Linked DNA regions of Homo sapiens: region 2 is linked to region 1. The links are contacts of gene promoters, found by promoter capture Hi-C in human tissues and cell types (Jung and others, 2019). All regions are on one chromosome and are shown on one strand. The core of a region is centred on a gene start or on the middle of the fragment in contact, and the rest is flanking DNA. Distances in the headings are between cores, read along the strand shown.

Region 1 (4,300 bases), core at 69-2,568:
ACATTACTCATTCAAGGCTGGGAATTACCACTTTAAAATAAAGTATATTGAATACCTTTTTGGATTTCCCCGATTTTCAAACATTCTTCTGAATATATAACAACTCCCAGAAACCAATTCCTTTCTCAATCATCCTGGGAGCCATCTGATGAGGATCTAATAGCTAACTTTGTAATTAGAACGCAAACATTAATGTAAGAGTACAAAAAAGACGTTGCAATGAGCAAGAGAAGATAGATTGTAGTAGTAAAGCTAAGTGATTCAATAATATTCTTAAAACATAGCACATATACATACTCTTGTTTGGTATTCCCAGTAAATGATTTTTAGATACTAAAATTTCTCAGTAGCTTTTCTATACTAATAGCCTTCAAACTATTTCTGTTCTGTATTTTACCTTTCAACCAAACTTTCTATGGCTTTCAGTTTTCCAGTATATTTCTTCCCATTTATTGTACATTTCAAATAATACTTTTCTTTCCTCTATCCCATTTTTAACTACATTAAGAAAAATTCTGAAAGCCTTTTGGCTTGAAACCAGAATTCAACGTTCCAGTTCAGCCAGTAATGAGTCATGTTCTTTTTTTTTTGCCCAGGGCATGTCCTGGTTTACTCTTTAATTTACTGAAATGAAAAGGCTGCTTTTGGGGGCATGTTAAGACTCGCTCCATTAGCTATAAGACAGATAGGGGGATGAATTCTAAATATCTTACTTCCTGCTTTGGAAAATGCCTTTAAACTCTTCTGTTTTCACTTCTCATTAAGATCACATTTTAGGATTACCTGGCGTATTGCCCCATGACCCATACTCCCACACTTTTTTTTAACTCACCGGCTGCCTTTTTACACCTAGCCAATTTTTCCAGACCAGGATCTGAAGCTGATGAAACAGGGAAGCCATCCTTCAAATGCCCCAAATGAGAGATTTCCTCTTCTTTTCTCCACTCCACAAATGAAGAACTGATGCCCCGTCCAACTTGCTGTATGTCAGTGTATCAGTACCCCTTTCACGGCATAGCTTCCTTGAGGGCTGGGGTAAGAAACCCACAGTTCTTCTGTTTCTGCTGGATTTTTCCCTGTGGTTAATCCTTAACCAAGAGGCACTTCTCAATCAACTCTTCTTCCAAAAGAAGGACCCAGATCAGTATCTTTGGGTGGCTTATGCTTATTTTAAAATAATATCCAGTTGCTGCTTGTTGCACGAAGTCCAGACTCAAGAGAGAATGAGCATCATTCAGATAATGCCTCACTGAAAAAAAAAAAAAAGCAGCAGCTGAACCCACACCTCCTACTCTCCATGAAATTAATTGCCTATCCACACCTTAGAGAACATGTCACCTGCACTGGATGCGTCACAGGGACTAGGGGGTGGGACCTTTGCAAGGCCAGTAGGACTTGTCCTACATTCTCTTGTCTTCTTTCCTGCACACAGTGTCTGCTCTAGCAGAGGCAGGGCACAGAGAGCATTTCACAGACACTGGGCCCAGTGACTCTTTAATATTAAAGTGTCATTAAAATGATTTAAGTCAATAAGGCCAGAGCTTAGCTGCAAAGCTCTGAGCCTCAGCCCATCATTAGATATACTAGGGAAAGTGTCCACCTTTAACCTAAAGTTGAATGTTTCGATTTTGGGGGAAGAAACTATGTTGGCCAGGTCCCACCTTTCATCACAATGTACTAGGTTAAGCACAGGGCAGAAAAGGAAAGGTAGGCTGTAGGGGACATAAATTACAAACTGGAGTCCCTCAATTCGTGAGTGGAGATTCACGTGTCTATTACAGACAAGCCACATTGTTTCAGGCTCTTATAGTGAAAGGGGACACAGGCTGATCCAAGACATTTCTATTTCCTCTTTCCATGATACATTCCTCCCTCTCTAAGATCCTGCCTTTCAAAGTTATCCCCAAGTTGACATCTTCAATGAAGCCTTTTTGGATATATCCCATAGGATAGATTCTCTTGCCTTTGAATCATTCTTTGTTGCCCTCTCTCAAGGAACTTAAAGTTTTTGCATTATTTTTATTTGTGTATGTCTTATTTTTCCTACAAGATTATAAATTATTTGAGGACATGGACTATTTTATATCACAGTACTTTACATATCATTAGTGTTCAATACTTGCTGCTGAATGTAATTGAATAAACTACTGGAGCCAAGGCTAGTAGGGTGAAGCTCCCCTTTGATCCTCACACCTACCCTGACTAATCCAGACTTTACTTGCAAAATCCGTTAAAGCATTAAGAGTTCTCCCTTCGCCAGGTGCGGTGGCTCATGCCTGTAATCCCAGCAATTTGGGAGGCCGAGACGGGCTGATCACTTGAGGTCAGGAGTTCAAGACCAGCCTCGCAAACATGGTGAAACCCCGTCTCTACTAAAAACACAAAAATTAGCCAGGCATGGTGGTGGGCACCTGTAATCCCAGCTATTTGGGAGGCTGAGGAGGGAGAATCGCTTGAAACCGGGAGGCAGAGGTTGCAGTGAGCTGAGATGGCGCCACTGCACTCCAGCCTGGGCAAAAGAGTGAGATTCCATCCCCCCTCCAAAAAAAGGAATCTAGCACAGGTCCTGCCTCATAGTAAGTAGTCAATTAATTCTATTAATTGGGTAGCAATGTTTGCTAAGGACTTATTGAATCATCCTAGGAGTCCTATTATATAGAAACTGTCATTATTCCCATTTTCAGTGAAAGAAAGTGATATTTAGAAGTGCCATAACTTGCTGGATTTCACCTAGTTAGCAGTGAGGACAGTGGGAACAGCAGAGAAGGAACTCGAACCTCGTTTCTGTACTGTTAATCTCTGTGCTATGTTTTCTCCAGTCCCATGTATTACACTTCACAGGAAGAGCTGAGAAACAAATGAACATCAGGGATTTTCCCTGTTTCTCTAGGCAGGTCTATAAATCACTTGTAGAGATTTTTTTGTAAGTACACGCATGAAAAATTATGGCCAAAATGAGTTCACAAAGAGTAGTTGCTCCAGGAATTCAGGAGAAGGAAGGCTGCTCTTTTAGGCTTCTTCATAGAGCCTCACGGCACTTCCCAGCCTGGCTCTTGCCAGCTTCATCAGTTGTCTCTCCACCTTCAGCCCTCCCTCCTGCCATCTGCTAGAATACTTTAGATGAGGACTGTTCACTTTCAGGCTTTGGTCATGCTGTTCCCTCTGCCCAAAATGAAATTGTGCTCATTCTCAAATGACTGACTCAAGTGTAACTTCCCCTCTGAAGCCTTTTCCAGCACTTCCACCCACCACACCCCCACCCCCGGCTGAATTAATCACCCCTTCATCTGTTTTCCCATAAAGCTTTGTTCGCACAGATAGCCAACTCCCTTATTACCTTCTAGTATAGTCAGTCTGTCTCTCTGTCCATACTCTGAGCCCCTTGAGTACAGGGACCAAGTCTCATGGAACACCACAATTTTGAGATAAATTCTGTATTCCTGAATGGTGAGAATTCTGACCCAACTAAATCTAAGAGCTGGTCTGAAGTAGTAGAAGATAAAGTTGGAGAGTTAGGGACCTAAAGCCAAAGAGGAGGAGATGTCATATTGCGGATTTAAAATGAAAAGTTCCTGGAAACTCTTCTTAAGAGATAGAGTATGATAAAGCCGATGCTGTGGGATGATGAAAATGTTAGTAGAATGAGAAACTGATTGAAGTTGAGACTTGAAACCCTGTTTTTGAATAGAAAAAACAAGTGAATTGAGTTAGTGATGATGTAAAACAGTTCAGAAATTTTAACAGCAACCAGATTATAATTTTACTCCTTTGTCTCAGCACTGGTTGTTGTGTATAGCATCAGTGACAACTTTGTTTGTTTGTTTGTTTTACCATCAACTGACTTTTACATTAAGGTGCTATGGGATACTCATTGCATACAGGACCTGTGAGGTCAACATTATTTTACCTGCTGTATACGTGAAGATGCATAGGACAAGTAGCTTCCTGAGGTCACACAGATAATGGGTGTCAGAACATTAATTTGAACCCAGGTTTCTGTGTCTGCAAAACCTGTTCTCCAACAGGCCCTAATAAAGCAAGCATGGGTAAGAAAACACAGCAAGTGCACACATTTAACCTAGGTGGAAATGTGCAACAAGTTGGGAAATTGAAGCTAACTCATGGTAAAAATAACAGCATCCTTCTTTTATAAGAAGGGTGGGACTCCACCCAAGGATTACCATAATGAGGCACCAGTTGCTAATACCTCATTGCCTAAGATCCACTTGCGATGTAAGAGGTTGATAGCTGATGCTATGAAGCAGGTGGGTGTGAGGAAGGTATCAGATTCAGGATTTTC
Region 2 (4,371 bases), core at 671-3,170, 68 kb before region 1:
ACCTAGTTGGTATTTTTATATTTCCAGGTGAAAGGCATTTAGTCTTTACCCCAGTGAAGAATAGAATGATACATTTTGGAAGGAAAATTCTGACTTTTAAAAAAAAAAATATGGAGTTACTCATTTGAGAGCATTTTTTTTTTTCTTAATTTCTTTGGATACAGGGTCACAGTGGCAGAATAAGTGTCAGGCCTTCTGATCGTGCAAATAATGTCTCCTTGTCAAGCACCACAACAGGGACTTAACACCATATCAAGAGTACAGAATGAGAGAAGCATATCAAAAACATCAGCTGTAAACAATCAAATACCTAAATGTGAATTTTCAAAGCATAGGAAAGGAAATGAATCTTAGAAGCATATTTGTAATAATTTATTAACGTTTTTTTTTAAATCTTCTTGTAGTTTTCAAGCACATTTTGTTCTCGGTTACACTTGAAAAGACAAGTTAAATTGTAAATGATATAAACTTGGCCTTTCAAAGTAGTTCGTAACATTATATCAGGAGCCTGTAGATCTGTTCCTGTTCTCCTTCGCATGCACCTTTCATTTGAGGGATCAGTCTACTTACTGAGGGGAGGTGTCCTGTCCACCACCCACCTTCAGATAAAATCAAATACACCAGTTCTTCCTGATTCCAGTCCCTCGGAATGAGGGCTTCTACACCTATGTGGCCTAGAGTGACTTCAGCCTAGGGCTGAAAACCAATATGACTTCGAACTTGCTAATAGAGACTCTAACCTAGTAAAATTGCGTCTTTTTAAGAGACTGGATAAAAAAATAAGCTATTTAAAAGAAAGAAAAAACCTTACATAGTTCTTAGCACAATGCTTCACACATTGTAAACAATTTTAAATATGTGAATAAATGGGTAGCTGTAGGAACCCCTGGGGGAGTCCGAGGAAGACTGCATGACTCAAGACTCTAACCTAATATACATCGTTATGTTTATCGTTTGTAGGACAAAGATTCAAATTGTATTCCAATGTTATAGTAAGTTCAAGGGATAATATTGTGTTATATTCACATGCCTTGTAAAATAGACAGATTTAAATGATTAATAAAATCAATATTTATTGTTGTAGAGCCTTTCAGTATTGATTTTTCTGAAAATCTAACTAATACACATTGACATCCATAAATGTCAACCTCTGGATTTATTATCCACAAAGTGAATCCATTCGCCATCTATTCAATAATATTTACTGGGCAGGTATTGTGTGCTTGGCACCAAGAAAGGTGTTAAGTAGGGTTCATTCTTCTATTTTTTAAAAAATCGTTCATCTTTTTTTTAAATGTTTTTATTATTATTATACTTTAAGTTTTAGGGTACATGTGCACAGTTAGTTACATATGTATACATGTGCCATGCTGGTGTGCTGCACCCATTAACTCGTCAGTCATTTAGCATTAGGTATATCTCCTAATGCTATCCCTCCCCCCTCCCCCCACCCCACAACAGTCCCCAGAGTGTGATGTTCCCCTTCCTGTGTCTATGTGTTCTCATTTTTCAATTCCCATCTATGAGTGAGAACATGCGGTGTTTGTTTTTTTGTCCTTGTGATAGTTTACTGAGAATGATGATTAAAAATTGTTCATCTTAACAGTTAAAAAATATTACTCTGGGTTATTATGGAAAGACAGAAAAAAGAGAGAGTATGTGAATCTGGTTTACAAGGTCATCACAGTTTTATTAAGTAAAATGCATATAGAAATCATTTGTTTTCCTGAACTGCCAGAAATATTGTGTACTAAAAAGTGTATGTTTGAAAACAAACAAAAGACATTGGTTAAAAAATAAACCTTCGGCTAGGAGCAGAGGCTCACACCTATACTCTCGCACTTTGGGATGCCAAGACGGATGGATTGCTTAAGCCCAGCAGTTCGAGACAAAGCCTGGGCAACATGGCGAAACCCTGTTTCTACAAAAAATACACACTCAAGAAAACCCACAAACTATCTCGGCATGCTGGTATGTGCCTGCAGTCCCACCTACTCCAGAGGCTGAGGTAGGAGAATCGCTTGAGCTCAGGAGTTCAAGGCTGCAGTGAGCCATGATCATGCCACAACACTCCAGCCTGGGCAACAGAGTGAGATCCTGTCTCAAATAAAATAAAATAAAATAAAATAAAATAAAATAAAATAAAATAAAATAAAATAAAATAAAAAATAAATCTTCATGGTTTTGAAGGAATTTAACATACATCATTTCATACAAGCTCCATGACAATTCTGTCAGATAGGCAGGGTGAGGGTTTATGCCCATTTTGTAGATAACCTCCGAGAAATCAAGCAATTTGGTCAAAGTCCAAATAAATAATTAATAATAAACAAACATAAACAATAAAATGCCAGAGATGGATCTAGAACTATATGATAGATTACAGTAATGAAAACAACATGTTCAGCTAAGCTTCAGAATCTTGGAGGAGGAAAGAGACTGAGAATTTGAAAAACAGGTACACTTCTAGTTTTGCTGTTGAATCACTGAATCACCAGGGGGTAAATTAACCTAGGACTCTATTTCCACATCTCCCAAATTGAAGATAATGGATTTTGCCATCTCACAGGGCACAGGGAAGATCAATTAGGCAATGCTTGTGTAAGGTACTATAAGCATTGAAGACACAAGGCCCCATGGAACCATGAGTTACCATTGCTCATCGGGCTTCTCTTGCATCATTCATCTTATTTTCCACTTGCTGGCTGTGGCTTCTCTGCTCGACCTGGTCTCCTGGCTCATGCCTTGAGCCAGTGAATGGTTTGGAGTGTTGCATGATGATGCACTTCTCTTCCTAGTAATTCATAATATGTACCTGTATCAACCGCTGTAGTGTTTAAATTACTGTGTGCTCAGTGGGTGTGGTGCCATGATACATTCTCCCTCCTTCTCCCCAGGCAAGTCTTACTTCATAGCACAGATTCTTTTCCAAGTTCAAATCCATTGGCAAAAAGGTAGACTGTAGGTGGTAATGAGGGCTGAGGCAAGATGCCTAATCCTGAAAGCAGTGATTAAGGAGTTCCTGTACTCAAAACGTTGGCACCTGAATATGTTCAATTGCTACAGCCACAAGGAACAAGAACAAACCTTGGGTCATTTGGGTGGGTGTCCTACAATGTCGGGATCTTTCTGACATCCTCTGCATCCCTCATAGCTGCTGCCAAGTACCACAGCCAGACGGATTTTGAAAAGTACAAAAAGTGTCCCTATGGATAGGACATAGGGACATTTTTTGTACCTTGAGACTCTGGCTATGAAACTATAGGCAAGAGGCACTGGGGGAAGATCTCTGCCTTCTTTATATTGTTGGCTTATTGCTATTATTATTTTTTAAGGGAAGCAGAGTTTTTAGAAGGCAGTCTGGACTCAGGACCTTGCTGTCTCTTTGGATGTTATCTCTTTGACCCTTTAGTGTACACTTGAATTGATGGTCAGCCCAGAAGACTCCATAACCCCACCTTCCTGCATGTCCAGACCAAAATGTAGCTCCGTCTTTTCTGAATGTTAAGGAGACCCTGCTGGGTGATGGGTTCCAAAGATCATGGCCTGGTCTATTTAAATTTTAAACAAAATGTTTTGATTCAAGGCTGGGAGATATAACAGTAACAAATACATGGCAGATAATAAACTCCCTTGTGAACTGAATCTGGGGGAAGTTTAAAAATAAAAATCTCACTCATACTTTCAAAACATTTCCACTTAACAAAGAATGTTGAGTTCTTCGCCAGGCGCGGTGGCTCACGCCTGTAATCCCAGCACTTTGGGAGACCAAGGTGGGCGGATCACGAGGTCAGGAGTTCGAGACCAGCCTGGCCAACATGGTGAAACCCTGTCTCTACTAAAAATACAAAAATTAGCTGGGCATGGTGGCAGGCACCTGTAACCCCAGCTACCTGGGAAGCTGAGGCAGGAGAATTGCTTGAACCCAGGAGGCGGAGGTTGCAGTGAGCCAAGATCGTGCCATTGCACTCCAGACTGGGTGACAGAGCAAGAGTCTGCCTCCAAAAAAAAAGAAAGAAAGAAAAGAAACAAGGAATGTTGAGTTCTACGGCTCATCTGGGGTGAGTAGGGTTTATTAGTCTTGTTAGATAAGCCTTACAGTAACTGACATTTTGCTTTTCTGAAACTTGTCTTTTAGTAACAAAGATTCACGATTGCATTTTTAAAAAATCTCCCTGCTATGGCCATTTGCAAATAGAATCCTGGCAACTATTTTTCCCCTCTAAATATACATTAATTTTTTTTTAAATAGACCCCTAGAATCTCATTTCATTGTAGGACATTCTCCCTCTAAAATTTAGCCTCCTAATTCTCCTTAGATGCGGCTAACCAGGAAGATGGTTTTAGCCTCTGGGCAGGTCTGAATTAAGC

Evidence for each region. The method cuts DNA at HindIII sites, captures the fragments that hold promoters and counts their contacts. A contact is called where the count stands out against the background at its distance.
Region 2: a contact is called between a fragment that was not itself captured here and the fragment with the promoter of ABCA12 in region 1, in 3 of the 25 tissues and cell types used here (bladder, small bowel and spleen).

Annotation. Positions count from the first base shown.
Region 1 is chr2:215,137,308-215,141,607 of GRCh38, forward strand. It overlaps ABCA12 (ATP binding cassette subfamily A member 12), which reads right to left and starts at 1,319. Exons shown (of 53, transcript NM_173076.3): 1 at 833-1,319. The coding sequence starts at 901. The HindIII fragment of the contact is 12,690 bases long and covers 1-4,300 here.
Region 2 is chr2:215,069,093-215,073,463 of GRCh38, forward strand. All of the region lies in intron 2 of ABCA12 (ATP binding cassette subfamily A member 12), which reads right to left. Among named protein-coding and RNA genes, the nearest start is that of ABCA12, 67 kb to the right of the region's middle. The HindIII fragment of the contact is 5,384 bases long and covers 1-4,371 here.